Regions from separate parts of the Homo sapiens genome. Here all the other regions are linked to region 1. Evidence: promoter capture Hi-C in human tissues and cell types (Jung and others, 2019). All regions are on one chromosome and are shown on one strand. Each heading gives the region's core, a stretch centred on a gene start or on the middle of the fragment in contact. The rest is flanking DNA. Distances are from core to core; before and after follow the strand shown. Region 1 holds the start of TFF3 (trefoil factor 3). Region 2 has its middle 35 kb from the start of LINC01668. Region 3 holds the start of C2CD2 (C2 calcium dependent domain containing 2).

Evidence for each region. Contacts are between HindIII fragments. The study calls those that stand out against the background at their distance.
Region 2: a contact is called between a fragment that was not itself captured here and the fragment with the promoter of TFF3 in region 1, in 1 of the 25 tissues and cell types used here (IMR-90 fibroblasts).
Region 3: a contact is called between the fragment with the promoter of C2CD2 here and the fragment with the promoter of TFF3 in region 1, in 4 of the 25 tissues and cell types used here (H1 embryonic stem cells, IMR-90 fibroblasts, lymphoblastoid cells and 1 more).

The regions. Positions count from the first base shown.
Region 1 is chr21:42,313,998-42,318,550 of GRCh38, reverse strand. It overlaps TFF3 (trefoil factor 3), which reads left to right and starts at 3,142. Exons shown (of 3, transcript NM_003226.4): 1 at 3,142-3,258. The coding sequence starts at 3,177. RefSeq lists enhancers at 804-1,422, 1,423-2,042. The HindIII fragment of the contact is 18,141 bases long and covers 1-4,553 here.
Region 2 is chr21:42,812,590-42,817,142 of GRCh38, reverse strand. No RefSeq gene overlaps it. Among named protein-coding and RNA genes, the nearest start is that of LINC01668, 35 kb to the right of the region's middle. The HindIII fragment of the contact is 5,053 bases long and covers 1-4,320 here.
Region 3 is chr21:41,951,370-41,955,922 of GRCh38, reverse strand. C2CD2 (C2 calcium dependent domain containing 2) reads left to right here and starts at 1,905. Exons shown (of 14, transcript NM_015500.2): 1 at 1,905-2,553. The coding sequence starts at 2,275. RefSeq lists a silencer at 1,613-2,282 and an enhancer at 2,159-2,933. The HindIII fragment of the contact is 14,094 bases long and covers 1-4,553 here.

The DNA of each region.
Region 1 (4,553 bases), core at 1,893-4,392:
GATCCATCCAGGAGCCCCTGCACAAGGCCCAGGGTGGGAGGGATTTGCAGGGCTCCTGGGACGGCCCACACCGCCACACCGCACACAGCTGACGAGGCTGCTGCAGGGATGCGGGATGCGGCTCCCAAGGAGGAAAGGGAGAGGCTCCTTTAGAGCCAGTCCTGCTCACCCCCAGGTCTTGGGTTGCCCAGGGGAGCCACCTGTCTGGGTTGGGCCCGATGCCCACTACCGCACGGCCTACAGCTCTGACAACAGCTCTGCTTTTTCTCTGGAACTGGAACTCCCCCAGGGGAATAGGGTGGCTGGGGAAGGCTGTGGGAATGCAGGCTCTGGAAGGCAGGTTGGGCTCTCCCATGCCATCCTCTGTTCCTGTACAGAGCCCAGGGCTCCTGGGGAGGGGGCTCCTAGAACAGAGAGAGGGGACACACACGGGCCTCCCCATTGACCTCTCCAGAGGTGCAGCCCAAATCCCCCTTCTCTGAGAAGCCTGTGCGTCTCCACCTGACAGGACCCAGCTCTGGCCCCCTTGCCACAGCCTTTGCTCCTACCAGAGCCGGGACCAGGAATCCTCTCCTCTGCCATCATGGTTGATCCAGCACACCCGGCAGGTGGTCAGTGTGTGTCCCAGGCACCTGGCTGGGCTGTGCAGCACCACTTCATGCTGTCCTGTGGGGTGAGCACCCTGTGACATGTAGGGAAACTGAGGTACAGATGGGACGTGACTTGCCCAAGGTCAGGCAGCACAGAACCTAGTCTTGGCTTCACCATCTTAACTCTGACATGATCCCGTCTCCCTTTGCGGGGGGACTCTTCAAGGACAAGAATGTGTCACCTTTGTTATTCCTTCCCCAGCCCTAAACCCTGGGTGTAGGCAGTAGGAGCTCAGTCAACATTCACTAGTTAAACGGAAGCAAACCCCAGCAGGGTTCTCGGTGCTGGCCGCAGAGAAGAATCACAGGCGACAGAACCACCTGTCAGGGCGGGGCCCAGGCATTGATATTCTCCCCACTCCAGGCAATTTTGAGTGCAGCAGGTGGAGACCACAGCACCTGCAGAAGCTCCTTGCGGGGGTCCTTCCCCAGCAGGTCATGAGGGCCGGAGGGGCAGCAGTCTGTTCCTGGGGTGTTTGCACCCTCCTGGAACTCAGCCCTGCACCACGACCTGGCCTGGCCTCTGGGTACTAGGAGCAGTGGGAAGGCAGGGAGATCTCACCAGATCCCCCAGGGAGATCTCACCAGATCCCCCAGGGATTTCCCCTACAATGACCTTTTTAATAACATGAAAATCCTGCTGTCCATTGATGAACCTGGGTCCGCTGTCTCCCAGAAAAAGTGAGTGCCCCGAAAACAAGGCAGGCAACGCTCTTTCCTTCTTCCTCCTTCGCTGGCCTCAGCGGGAGTGGCACATCAGAGGCCAGGGGCCCTCAAATCCATCCACAAAGGGCGTGCTGAGCGCAAGGGCGGGGCCTGGGAGTCACAGGGCAGGACACATCCTGGTGCTCAGCACGTACGCCATCGAGCTCCCATGGGTCACTCGGGGAAGGGCAGTTTGTGGATGCACCCTTGGAGGCTCAAGGCCGCCCTGCACACACCACCGGGGACCCCAGCTGCAGGCTAAATCCAAGCAGCCAGGCGCTCCCATTTCTCGGGGTGATAAACCAAGTCCACCCTTCAGACAGAGGCTCCTGGAAGGGCCAGTGGGGGTCATCAAAATGCCTCCCTGGAAAAGAAACACGGAGAACACAAAATCTAGGGGCCCGTTTTCCTGGAATGAGATTAGTCTCTTGCCCACTACCAGCCAGTCCACTGCAGGAGGTTGGGGGGTTGGGGGATGCTGCGGATGCCGAGGGCGGAGGCTTAGGGTCCTGGGAGTGGGTTAAATACCAGCTATACCAGGGACACTGGAGTAACCTCTGATAGGCACCGGAAATGTTGAGTCTTAGTTTCTTCCTCTGGAAAATGGATAGAATCATCGCTGTCTCATCTGATATGTTGTTATAAAACAATTCCTGAGATGTAGTCTTTAGTTTTTAAAAGAGCACGCTGGGCAAAGGTGGAGAGTCAGTTCCTGTTTGTGTTAAAAATGTGGCCGAGTGCAGTGGCTCATGCCTGTAATCCTGACACTTTGGGAGGCCAAGGAAGGCAGATCACTTGAGTCCAGGAGTCTGAGACCAGCCTGGCCAACATGGCGACACCTGGTCTCTAAAAAAATACAAAATATTAGCTGGACACATGCCTGTGGCCCAGCTACTTAGGAGGCTGAGGTGGGAGGATCACTTGAGCCCCGCGAGGGCGGGGGTCTCAGTGAGTTGAGATTGTGCCACTGCACTCCAGCCTGGGTAACAGAGCAAGACCCTGTCTCCAAAAAAAAAAAACAAAAAAAAAACAAAAAAAAAACAAAACAAACAAACAAACAAAAACAAACCAAAAAAACGTGCTTAGATCCAGAGAGAAAAATTCTGAAAGGATACCTAAAAAAGTGTTCACAATAGATCAATAGATGCCTCTGGATAGGAAAGGCTCTTTTGTATTATTTGATTTTAAAAATCAATTATGTGTACCATGTTTTTACTAACATATTTTCAATCAATTCATTTCATCCACTTATTAAAATGTAGTTACTAATTTTTAGGGGAGAAAGCAAAAAGGAAAGACAAGGAATCTCTGTGTTTCAGGAGTTGTGAGAGAGCCGCAGGGTCCTGACTCACTCAGAGCTGCCTGTCTCCGAGGCCGATCTGGGATGAAGCAGCCTGGGGCTCTCTTGTCATGGGACCAGGGGTGTTCTGAGGGCTTCTGGCTGGGAGGCTGAGATGGAACGGACACCACACCCTGGTCCTGCCACCCCACATGGCTCCTGCACACTACACCAGGCCAGGCTAGGAGGGCAATTGACACACATCCGCTCCCCAGTAGAGGACCCGGAACCAGAACTGGAATCCGCCCTTACCGCTTGCTGCCAAAACAGTGGGGGCTGAACTGACCTCTCCCCTTTGGGAGAGAAAAACTGTCTGGGAGCTTGACAAAGGCATGCAGGAGAGAACAGGAGCAGCCACAGCCAGGAGGGAGAGCCTTCCCCAAGCAAACAATCCAGAGCAGCTGTGCAAACAACGGTGCATAAATGAGGCCTCCTGGACCATGAAGCGAGTCCTGAGCTGCGTCCCGGAGCCCACGGTGGTCATGGCTGCCAGAGCGCTCTGCATGCTGGGGCTGGTCCTGGCCTTGCTGTCCTCCAGCTCTGCTGAGGAGTACGTGGGCCTGTGTGAGTACTGCCCTGACTGCCCCGGTGGCAGGGTGGGCGTGAAGGGAAGGGATCCAGGATAAGGGGGGATTCTGCATTCATTTAATAATGGCCACCTGTCACATATACACTTTTTCCTGCGCTAGCCCTTTGAAGTGGGTCTTTATTGTCCCCATTTCACAGACAAGGAAACCGAGGCTCAGAGAAAGTTAACAACTTATCCAAGGCAGCCCTGCCCAGTCTGTGTTGAAATCAGGGTTTGAGCCTGAGCCCATCCCCTATGACCCCATAGCCATCTTTGCTGGAGATTTCTAAATTACAATATAGGTCTTTATGCATTGTTCCACATTTACAAAGAAAAAGGAAAGATGCAGGAGAAAAACCCTGACTTCAGAACACTGTCAATACCGGCAGGCACAAGGTTCATTTAGCCATTGCATAGCAACCCTGCCATGGGGTGTGGCTGCTCCATTAACCCAAGTTTGAAGGAATGAGGGCATGGCTTTTATCTGGGTGTCTTCTGAGCAGGGTCAAAGGCAGTGGTTCCCGAACTTGCAGCCCATTAGAATCACCTGGAGAGCTTTAAAAATCCTAATGCTTGGGGCACACCAGTTACATCAGGGCATCTCCAGGCAAGATCCAGGCCTCAGCTGTTTTGTTTTGAGATAGCCTTGCTTTGTCACTCACTGCTGGAGTGCAGTGGCACAATCTCAGCTCACTGCAACCTCCGCCTCCTGGGTTCAAGCAATTCTTGTGCCTCGGCTTCAAGTAGCTGGGATTACAGGCATGCACCACCATGCCCAGCTAATTTTTTGGATTTTTAGTAGAGATGGAGTTTCGCTATGTTGGCCAAGCTGGTCTCAAACTCCTGGCCTCAAGTGATCCTCCTGCCTTGGCCTCCCAAAGTGCTGGAATTACAGGTGTAAGCCACCATGCCCAGCCAACGTCAGTCATTTTTAAAGCTCTGCAGCTGATTCCAGTGTGAGCGAAGTTTGGATGCCAGGAGGATAAGCAATTACGGACTGGGAGCAAGAGAAGGGAATGTAAGACACTGCACGTGATTGCCATTTTCCTAAGGAAATACTCAGTTCGTTAATGAAACGCAGTGAACTTCTGCTGCACATACAGACATAGAGGCTTGCCTGAAACATGAAAATATTGGGGACTGAAGGATGTCCCGGGAGGGTGGGACATGCTCAACAATTCAGGAAGGGGAGATGCAGAAAAAAGTGAAAAGCAGGCAGCATGCGTTGCAATGATCTCTATGGCGTGTGCCTCTCCTGTCACGGTTTTCATTTAAAACAAAGGGGCAAGGT
Region 2 (4,553 bases), core at 545-3,044, 500 kb before region 1:
AAACCCCATCTCTACTAAAAATACAAAAATTAGCTGGGCGTGGTGGCAGGTGCCTGTAATCCCAGCTACTCAGGAGGCTGAGGCAGGAGAATTGCTTGAACCCAGGAGGAGGAGGTTGTAGTGAGCTGAGATTGTGCCACTGCACTCCAGCCTGGGCAACAGAGCAAGACTCCGTCTCAAAAAAAAAAAAAAAAAAAAAAAAAAAAAAAAGTGGTTGTGTTCTGACGGCTCTGCTCTCATGAATGCATTAGTCCATTAATGGGTTAATGGGTAAATGAGTAACAGGTTATCATGGTGGTGGCATTAATGGCTTTATAAGAGGAGAAAGAGACACCTGGGCTAGCACACTCAGCCCCTCACGTGATACCCTGTGCTGCAGAGAGTCCCCACCAGCAGGAAGGCCCTCATCAGATGTGGTGCCTTAACCTTAGATTTCTCAGCCTCCATAATGGAAGAAATAAATTCCCTTTCTTTACAAATGACCCGGCCTCAGGAATTCTGTTATAAGCAACAGAAAATGGACAAAGACAATAGCATTATTTAGTGAGATAAATTCACAGCAGTGTGTAGTAAAATGAATGTTTCTCCTTGGTGATGGAATCCTAATTTTAGAAAATTGTTTTTCCAAGTGTGAGGGGAAATATTGTGCCTTATCCTCCTTCCTGTCATGCAGTCATAATGGCTGGTGCTTCAGCACCATTTTGGCCCATAAGGTACTTCACAAAGGATGGCAGAGCAGGAAAATGGTTACTTAGTAAGCAGGTATAGAAACTTGTGTGCCAGGACTTGCCTTTAGTGTTTTAAAAATATTAACCCATTTTGTCCTCATAGCAACCACATGAGGTAATAAGGTCTACTGTTCTCAAGTCCATCCTATATTTGTCCTTTCTTGCATTGCTATAAAGAAATAACTGAGGCAGGGCACCACAGTGGCTCACGTCTGTAGTCCTAGCACTTTGGGAAGCTGAGGTGGGTGGACTGCCTGAGTTCAGTTCCAGACAAGCCTGGGCAACAGGGTGAAACCCCGTCTCTACTAAAATACAAAAAATTAGCTGGGTGTGGTGGTGGGTGCCTGTAATCCCAGCTACTTGGGTGGCTGAGACAGTAGAATCGTTTGAACCCAGGAGGTGAAGTTTGCAGTGAACTCACATCATGCCATTGCACTCCAGCCTGGGCAACAGAGCAAGACTCCATCTCAAAAAAAAAAAAATCCCCAAAACCCCAAAAATTAGCTGGGTGTGATGGTGTGCACCTGTAGTCCCAGCTAGTCAGGAGGCTGAGGCAGGAGAATCGCTTGAACCCAGGAGGCAGAGGTTGCAGTGAGCTGAGATAGCACCATTGAACTCCAGCCAGTGTGACAAGAGCAAAACTGTCTCAAAAAAATTAAATAATAGATACTGCATTATTTGGGTATTTTCCAATAAATATATATTGTAGGAAAACATTTTTGCTAAAAAAAACTGTGTCCTTTTTAGAAAAGGTAAACAAGTTTTGTCTAATTCAAAATTTATTTAAATGTTATGTATACAACAGGGTAAAAGGAATCAGGAAATAAAAACAGAGATAAAGTTATAAAAATAGTTTTTTTTTGTCATAAGAAAGCTTAAAGAGAAATAATTTTTTTATGGTAAATTTAGTCCTAAAATAAAATGACTGGTTGTTTAAGAAGGAGGAATATTCAGGACAAAACAAAGTCCAAGCATGTCATGAACAGTCAGTGTTAAGTCTCAATAAGAGGATATATGTATTAAAAAAAACCTGAAACTTTAATATGATCAAGTTGTCATTATTAAGTTTTGGTTTGCTTAGGAAAAAAAACTGGGATAAAAATTTTTTAAATTAAGTTTATTACATCCACGTATCTTCCTGTATGTGCTTTTAAAGTGCTTGTGACACTGAATTACAGGGCTTTGACTCCTGGGTCTAAAAAGGACACCTAGTCCTGCTAAGTCTTAAACATTGACAGCAATTGAAGCCTCATCTACAGGCCCATAGAAGATGCCAGTCAAAATAAACTCATTCCTGAGACACAGAGTAAAAAATTAAAGCTGTTCAACTCCTCAAGGCCCAGAGACTATTGTGGAAGAGGTGGGTGCATGAGATTGTAAGAGCGAATTTTGAAAGATAAAATAAGTTCAATTTATCTATAAATTAATCATTAATATCAAAGGTACACTGATGCAAGACAAGCATTTGGGCCCCTGTGTCAGATTAACAAGGTTTTCTTGAAGCATTAACTGGCTCTTTAATAAAGGTTATAAAGGGTATAAAAGGCATACGAAGCTATATCTTATGATCAAGATTAAAATTTTATAGATTGTTTATAAAATTTTGAACAACAAATTTAATTAGATTCATGCTGTTTTTATTAGGGATTATTGTTTGGAAAATTAAGTCTCCTCTCTCAAAGAATAAAGGTTTTCACCTTTTTCCTGAAATCCTTGTTATCACTTTGGTTAAGTGAATGACTTATTTTATTTTTATTGAAATGGAGTCTTGCTCTGTTGCCCAGGCTGGAGTGCAGTGGTGCAATCTCAGCTTACCGCAACCTCCAACTTATGGGTTCAAGCAATTCTCCTGCCTCAACCTCCGAGTAGCTGGGACTACAGGTGTCCACCACCACACCAAGCTACTTTCTGTATTTTTGGTAGAGATGGGGTTTCGCCGTGTTGGCCAGGCTGGTCTTGAACTCCTGACCTTGGGTGATCTGCCCACTTCAGCCTCCCAAAGTGCTGGGATTACAGGCATGAGCTACCATGCCCAGCATGAATGACTTACAATGACCTGGGATCCTACTTTGTGATATCAAGTGTCTTAAACCTTTCATATTTGACAAACTTTCCAAAATCAAATGATAAATTATGTCTTTTTCTGACCTAATTAATCCTTTAAGATATTAGGTTCCCTAAAGTCCAAACAATGACATAATTTGGTTTATTTAGTACAAAAAGTATACAGGAAGCATTGTCAAATATGAAATGGTGTTGGGTTTTCTTTGGGCTGTATTTGTATAAATACGTTATTGGTATGTATTCCAAAATTTTGGGAAACTCCTATAATTCTGATATAACTTAGTGTACATTATCAGAAATAATCATAATTGTTATGTTAAAATTATTGTGTGCCATAGAGGTAACAAGTTTCCTTGTCAATTGTGTCTTTGACTATGGCTGTCCTAAAATTTTTTGTCATTCATGAACAATTGTCTTATTTTGGTCCTATTAAAATGATGGTTTTATAATCAGCTATAAAACTCTAACAGGTGCTCTTCAATGCAGGTTTCTGATAACTTTGGAGATTGTGACATCAGAATAGAGGAAAAGCTTTCAGGACTCATAGAGAGCTAAAATGTTCATGAGTATCAAGCAGAACAGGAATTACCTGTATGGACTGAACTAATCTTTTTGACTTTTTGCTTAAAATGTTTGCTGATCCTTTGTTTTGTTTTTCAGAGTCTTAAGACTTTTCTTTTAAACTATTGACAGCTTTTAACAATTTAGTATACTTTTAACAATTTGGTATACTCATTACAGAAAATAATGTTTTTAAATTGTTTTCCTTCTTTTTTTCAATTTTTTTTCTAATTTGGAATCACTGAAAACTAAGCTGTTTTTTCTTAAAGCCCTGTGAACTGAAACCAGATAACTTAAACTTCAGAAGAAAGTAACAGCAACATATTTACATACATAAGCCACTTTCATACCTGCCTACTGATGTATAGACTTCAGAGTAATGTGGCCTATATGAATTTTTCAGGATTGTTCTTTTGTTTGTTGTTGTTTTTCTCCCTTCCTCCCCCTATTTTCTCTTCACAGGACATGAGACTTCATAACATGCTGAAAAGGAGCTTTTGGGACCTGCCCATCTAGGAATAAACTGTCCTAGCCATAAGAAATCACATAAAACCTAAGATCAGAGATCCATTTTCTTCTAAACTGCTTTCTCCAAAAGATTTTAAAGACGAAAAGGGGGGAAATGTGAAAGGAAAATATCTTGGGCCCCTAAAATCCCTAAAAACTAGAAGGAAAATTCAAGCTGGAAACTGCTCAGTGCAAACCTACCTTTCATTGTATTCAAAGTCACCCCTCTGCTCACTGAGATAGATGCATATCTGATTGTCTCCTTTGGAAAGGCTTATCAGAAACTCAAAATAATGCAACCATTTGTCTCTCACCTACCTGTGACATGGAAGTCTTTTAAATGCTTGCTCCCGGTGCCATAAAGAAATAGCACTTGGACATAATTTAATTTATTTAGTAAGGCCATTTTTACTTCCTGTAGAAAAGGTACACTCACCAGCAGTTTTGCCATGAGAGTACACCGAACAAAGGAGACAGGGTCATTTATAACCTGACGCATCCACCCTACTGTTGTGTCTGGTTTCCATTGGCTGGAACAGGACCTCACATTCTGTATTTGTCCCGACTGGCTAGCACCTTAGAACTTTTTTAAAGAGGCAAAGGCAGAGGAGAACAAAGGAAGGAGGAAGTAACTTGTGGAATGCTGAGAAAGGTAAAAAAAACTTTTAAATAAGGAAGAGGAACAGGCTATGA
Region 3 (4,553 bases), core at 656-3,155, 360 kb after region 1:
CCGCCATCACGCCCGGCTGAGTTTTGTGTGTGTGTGTGTTTTTAATAGAGACGGGGTTTCACCATGTTAGCCAGGATGGATAGTCTCATTCTTATTTCCACTTTCTGATAACAGACCTGGCTCGCAAGGGTCCATCCCCAGCTCACCTGGGCAATCCCCGTCTAATTTCACCTCCCTGACAGCGTCCTATCCTGTTCCCCACAAAGGCTCTCCGTCCAGCTGCTGTGCCATTCCTTCCTCTTTCCTGAAGAAAATCCGGGCCCACGGATTCAGGGCCAGAATCCCCTCTGATGGACCATCCACTGGCCCCGCAGCAGACTCCTGGCTAGGGAAGAGAAGGCCAAATGCTCAGTCTATCTAATTCCTTTCAAGGTCAAGTCCCCTTAATACAGCTGCAGAAAATAACAGGGGAATCACTTTTTTATGGTTTAGGCCTGTTTTAGGCCCCGGAGAATCTCAGGCTAGTATGTTTCTATGGCACTCCCTAAGGACCGCGTCCACTCTGCAAGAGGAGGGCACAGGGGCATGTCCCACACACCACACCACACACACACACACCATACCACATGCACCACACTGACACACCACCCACACACCACGCCACATGCACCGCACTCACACATTACACATACACACACTCCACATCCATGTACCACACATACACACACCACCGTGTTCACCACACACACAAACCACACCACATGCAACGCACTTACACAATACATATACACACAGCACCACACCACACCCATGTGCCACACACACACGCTCACATCACCCTGTGCACCACACACACACGCACCACACTGACACACCACATACATACACCACACCACATCACACATACACACCACACACACCACATGCACCACACACACACACCACATGCTGTGCACTTACACATCACACGTACACACACCCATGCACCACACCGACACCACACACGCACCACACCACATGCACCACGCTTACACATCACACACACACACCACACACACACACCACACACACTGCACTTATACATCACACATACACACCCATGCACCACCATACACACTCGCACCATCCTGTGCACCACACACCACACACATACACCACATGCTGTGCACTTACACATCACACGTACACACACCCATGCACCACACCGACACACCACACACGCACCACACCACATGCACCACGCTTACACATCACACACACCACATGCACCACACTGGCACGCAACACACATACCACACCACATGCACCACGCTTACACACACACCACACCCATGCACCACACATACACACTCACACCATCCTGTGCACCACACACCACACCCACAACACATCACACCACATGCGCCACACACATCACACCACATGCACCCCCGCCCCACCCGCACACTGAATGAATGACACAGCCACACAGAAGGCAGGGCCTGGGCCTGGTGCTGAGCCCCTCCTTGCCTCTGAGAAGCACGCCCCCTAAGGCAGGCCCAGCCCCTGGCTCCAGGGGCAGCCACGGATTTCCAGGGACTTTCCGAGGACTGAGCCTGGATCCTGTCTCGCTGGCGAGCAAATGGCAGTCCTCGAAATCACCCTGACTGCGCGCTGTGCACACGCACACTCACACATGTGCACACACACGCACTTGTGCAAGCGCGCACACGAGCCAAGCCAAGCAGCCGCACAGCAGCCGCCGGGGTTGGGCTGATGAATCCGGAGGCCCGGGTCACCTCGCGGCCCGCGGGCAGGCGCCGGAGGGGCGGGCGACGCGCGCACGTGGCGGGGCCGGGAAGGCCGGGCCTTTAGGGGGGCGGGGGCACGCCGCGTTGGGAGCAGGGGGGAGGACTGCGGCCCCCGCAGGCCCGGCCGCGCCCCCTCCCTCGGGCACCGCCCCCGCCCCGCCCCGCCCCGCGGCCAGAGCCTCCTCCGGCCACCGCTGGGCCGCGGGCGGGACGCCCGGGGCGGCGCGCGCAGGAGGAAGCGCGGCCCGCAGCGGCCCAGGAACTTCCCAGACGCCGAGTCGGGAGCGCGGGCCGCGGGGTCCGCTCGCGCCCCTGTTCCGCAGGTGTGCGGGGCTTGCGCCCAGCCCGGGCCGCGGCCGCCGCGCGTTTCCTCCCCGCTTGCCCGCCCAGAGGCCCCCGGCCACGCTCCTCGCCGGGCTCCGACCCCGCCGCGCCCCCTCCACGCCCCCAGCGCGCTGTGGCCGCAGCCAGCGCGTGTCCTGAGTCCGCCGTTCCGGCCCGGGGCTGCCGGGGAAGTTGGGGCGAGGCGGGCCGGGGATGCGCCATGGCCATGGCCCGGCTGGGCTCGTGGCTCGGGGAGGCGCAGTGGCTCGCGCTGGTGTCGCTCTTCGTCGCGGCCCTGGCCACGGTAGGCCTGTACCTGGCGCAGTGGGCGCTGGCCAGGGCGCGACCCCAGCCCCAGCGGCGGGCGGTGGAGCCTGGAGAGGGGCCGCGCCCGGGGTCCGACGCGCTGCTCTCCTGGATCCTGACGCTGGGCAGCTGGAGGAGCCAGTGGCAGGCGGCCTGGGTGACCGCCCTGAACGAGGAGGCCGAGAGGAAAGGGGTGAGTTTCCGGGACTGCGGGCCGGGGGGCGGCAGATGCCGGGGCGGGCGGTCCGGGCCGAGGTCTTTCCTGGAGGCGTCGCTGCAGCCCCTGACCCAGGCTAAGGGAGTCCTCCCCCCAGCGCAGACCATCCTCGAGAGTTAGGAGAGAGACGGGGGAGCGAGGCCCCTTGACGGAGAGACAAGACAAAGTGATTGATTTTATTCTCCAAACGGCAGGTGCTCCAGGCCCTGGGCTCCGCGAGGGACAGGCTGGCAGTTGGAGGGACCGTCAGAAGTGCTCATCCGCGCCAGCCAGTACCTGCCTTGCCTGGAGTCCCGGGGCGAATTCCCGTGCCCGATCGGACACTTACTGAGCTTGCACATGATACATGAATAGCTGTGACCCCAATGTGCTTCCGCCTCTCATAGAGCTGAATTTCACCAAGAATTTATCTCCAAAGACTTGCATTTCTTGGCATATAAAAATAGTGACCGTTTGCTGAGGGCCAGCCGCTGGGCAGACATCCTACCGAGGCTTTCGGTGCGTCTGCCATCTCTGAATCCTCACAACTCCCGGGACAGGGGTGTTATCACTGTTTTACAGATGAGGAAACCAAGGCCCGGAGAGGGCAAGCAGCCTGCCCAGTGCCACACAGCTCGTGGGCGGCAGAGCTGGCATGTGAATCCAGCTGCCCTGGCCTGCAAGCTAAGGGCCTCGTGTCTTACCTCTGCTGCCTCACAGTCCTGTGGGTGTTTCTGTAGTCGCTGATTACTCGTTGACTTATTTTTGCTTTTAAGACATCTTAGTATAACGACAAGCTCCTGGCATGTACTATTCTTAGGCATTTCACAGGAGAAGTTGGAGCCTGGGTGGGTTTGGGGAGGCACCCCTAGTCTTGGCCGCTGCTCCGCCCTTCCAGGCCACAGTTTCCTGCACATGCCTGTGCAGCTCAGTGGTCATTCGCTGTGGAAATAGCAGAATTGCTCATTTTCAATGTCCGGCCCCATCAACCTTCAAAATATTCCATGGCGGGCCCTGTGCCTGGTCCTTGTGCATGGCCTTGGAAGACATGGCCATGGAATTAAAAAACAAAAAAGCTTTGACTATCAGTTAGCAGCCATCCAACAAATCAAGAGACCTTGTTTTGAACTCTTGAAAAAGAACATAAATGACTGTACTTTTTGGAGGAAAAAGGCTTCAGGGTCAGTTGACTGACTTTTGTCCTGGTGCCCAGAATCTGTGCCTCAGCTGTCCAGAGCTGGAGAGTGTCTCAGGGAAACCAGCTGTCTCTTGTGGGAGCCCTCCACCCCTGTTGGCCTCACATCCAGGAGCAAATGCAGGTATTTCCCCAGGAAGCTGCCATCACTGACCCCTGACTGACCTGGAATCAAGGCTTCTGAGGCTGAGTCCCCTCCAGGCTGGTGGCTTGATTGGGCACCAGTCTCATCTGTGTCCTTTGTAGGAGGCAGGCAAGTGTTGGGTGAATGACCTTTAAGTTCAGCTTCTAACTCTGGAGTTTCAGGCTTAGAGGCAGTGACCCTACCTCCTGTATATTTGGGATGGTTCGTTTCCTGACATCTATGGATTGGCTTCAGAAAATATGATCCTCTTGGATATGATCCTTCCATATTCCCATCTGACTGAAGTGTTGAGAGGCAGAGAAGAGGATGTCCCTGGCATCTGTCTTAGGCTGGTCAAGTCAATCTGAGAACACTGAAAGAAATATTTGAAAGTTTTGGATGAAAACTTTTTACTTGAGTCTTTGTGTGGGAGCAGGGAGGGGTTGCGTTCAGGGAGAGGAGAGAGGGTCTCACCTTGTTTGCGCCTTCTCTGTTCTCTCTCTGCTGTTGGCCACACACTGCAGTCTCAGACACCTGTCTCTCCTGACCTCCTGCCTGGAAGAGGCAACAGTGTCCCGGATTCATGCTCAAAGCAACCCAGGGCCATCTCTGGCATTTTTGCATGGACATAGTCCATTAGTTCTGTGATGTCAGTTTTTGGTATTGCTTACTTTCCTG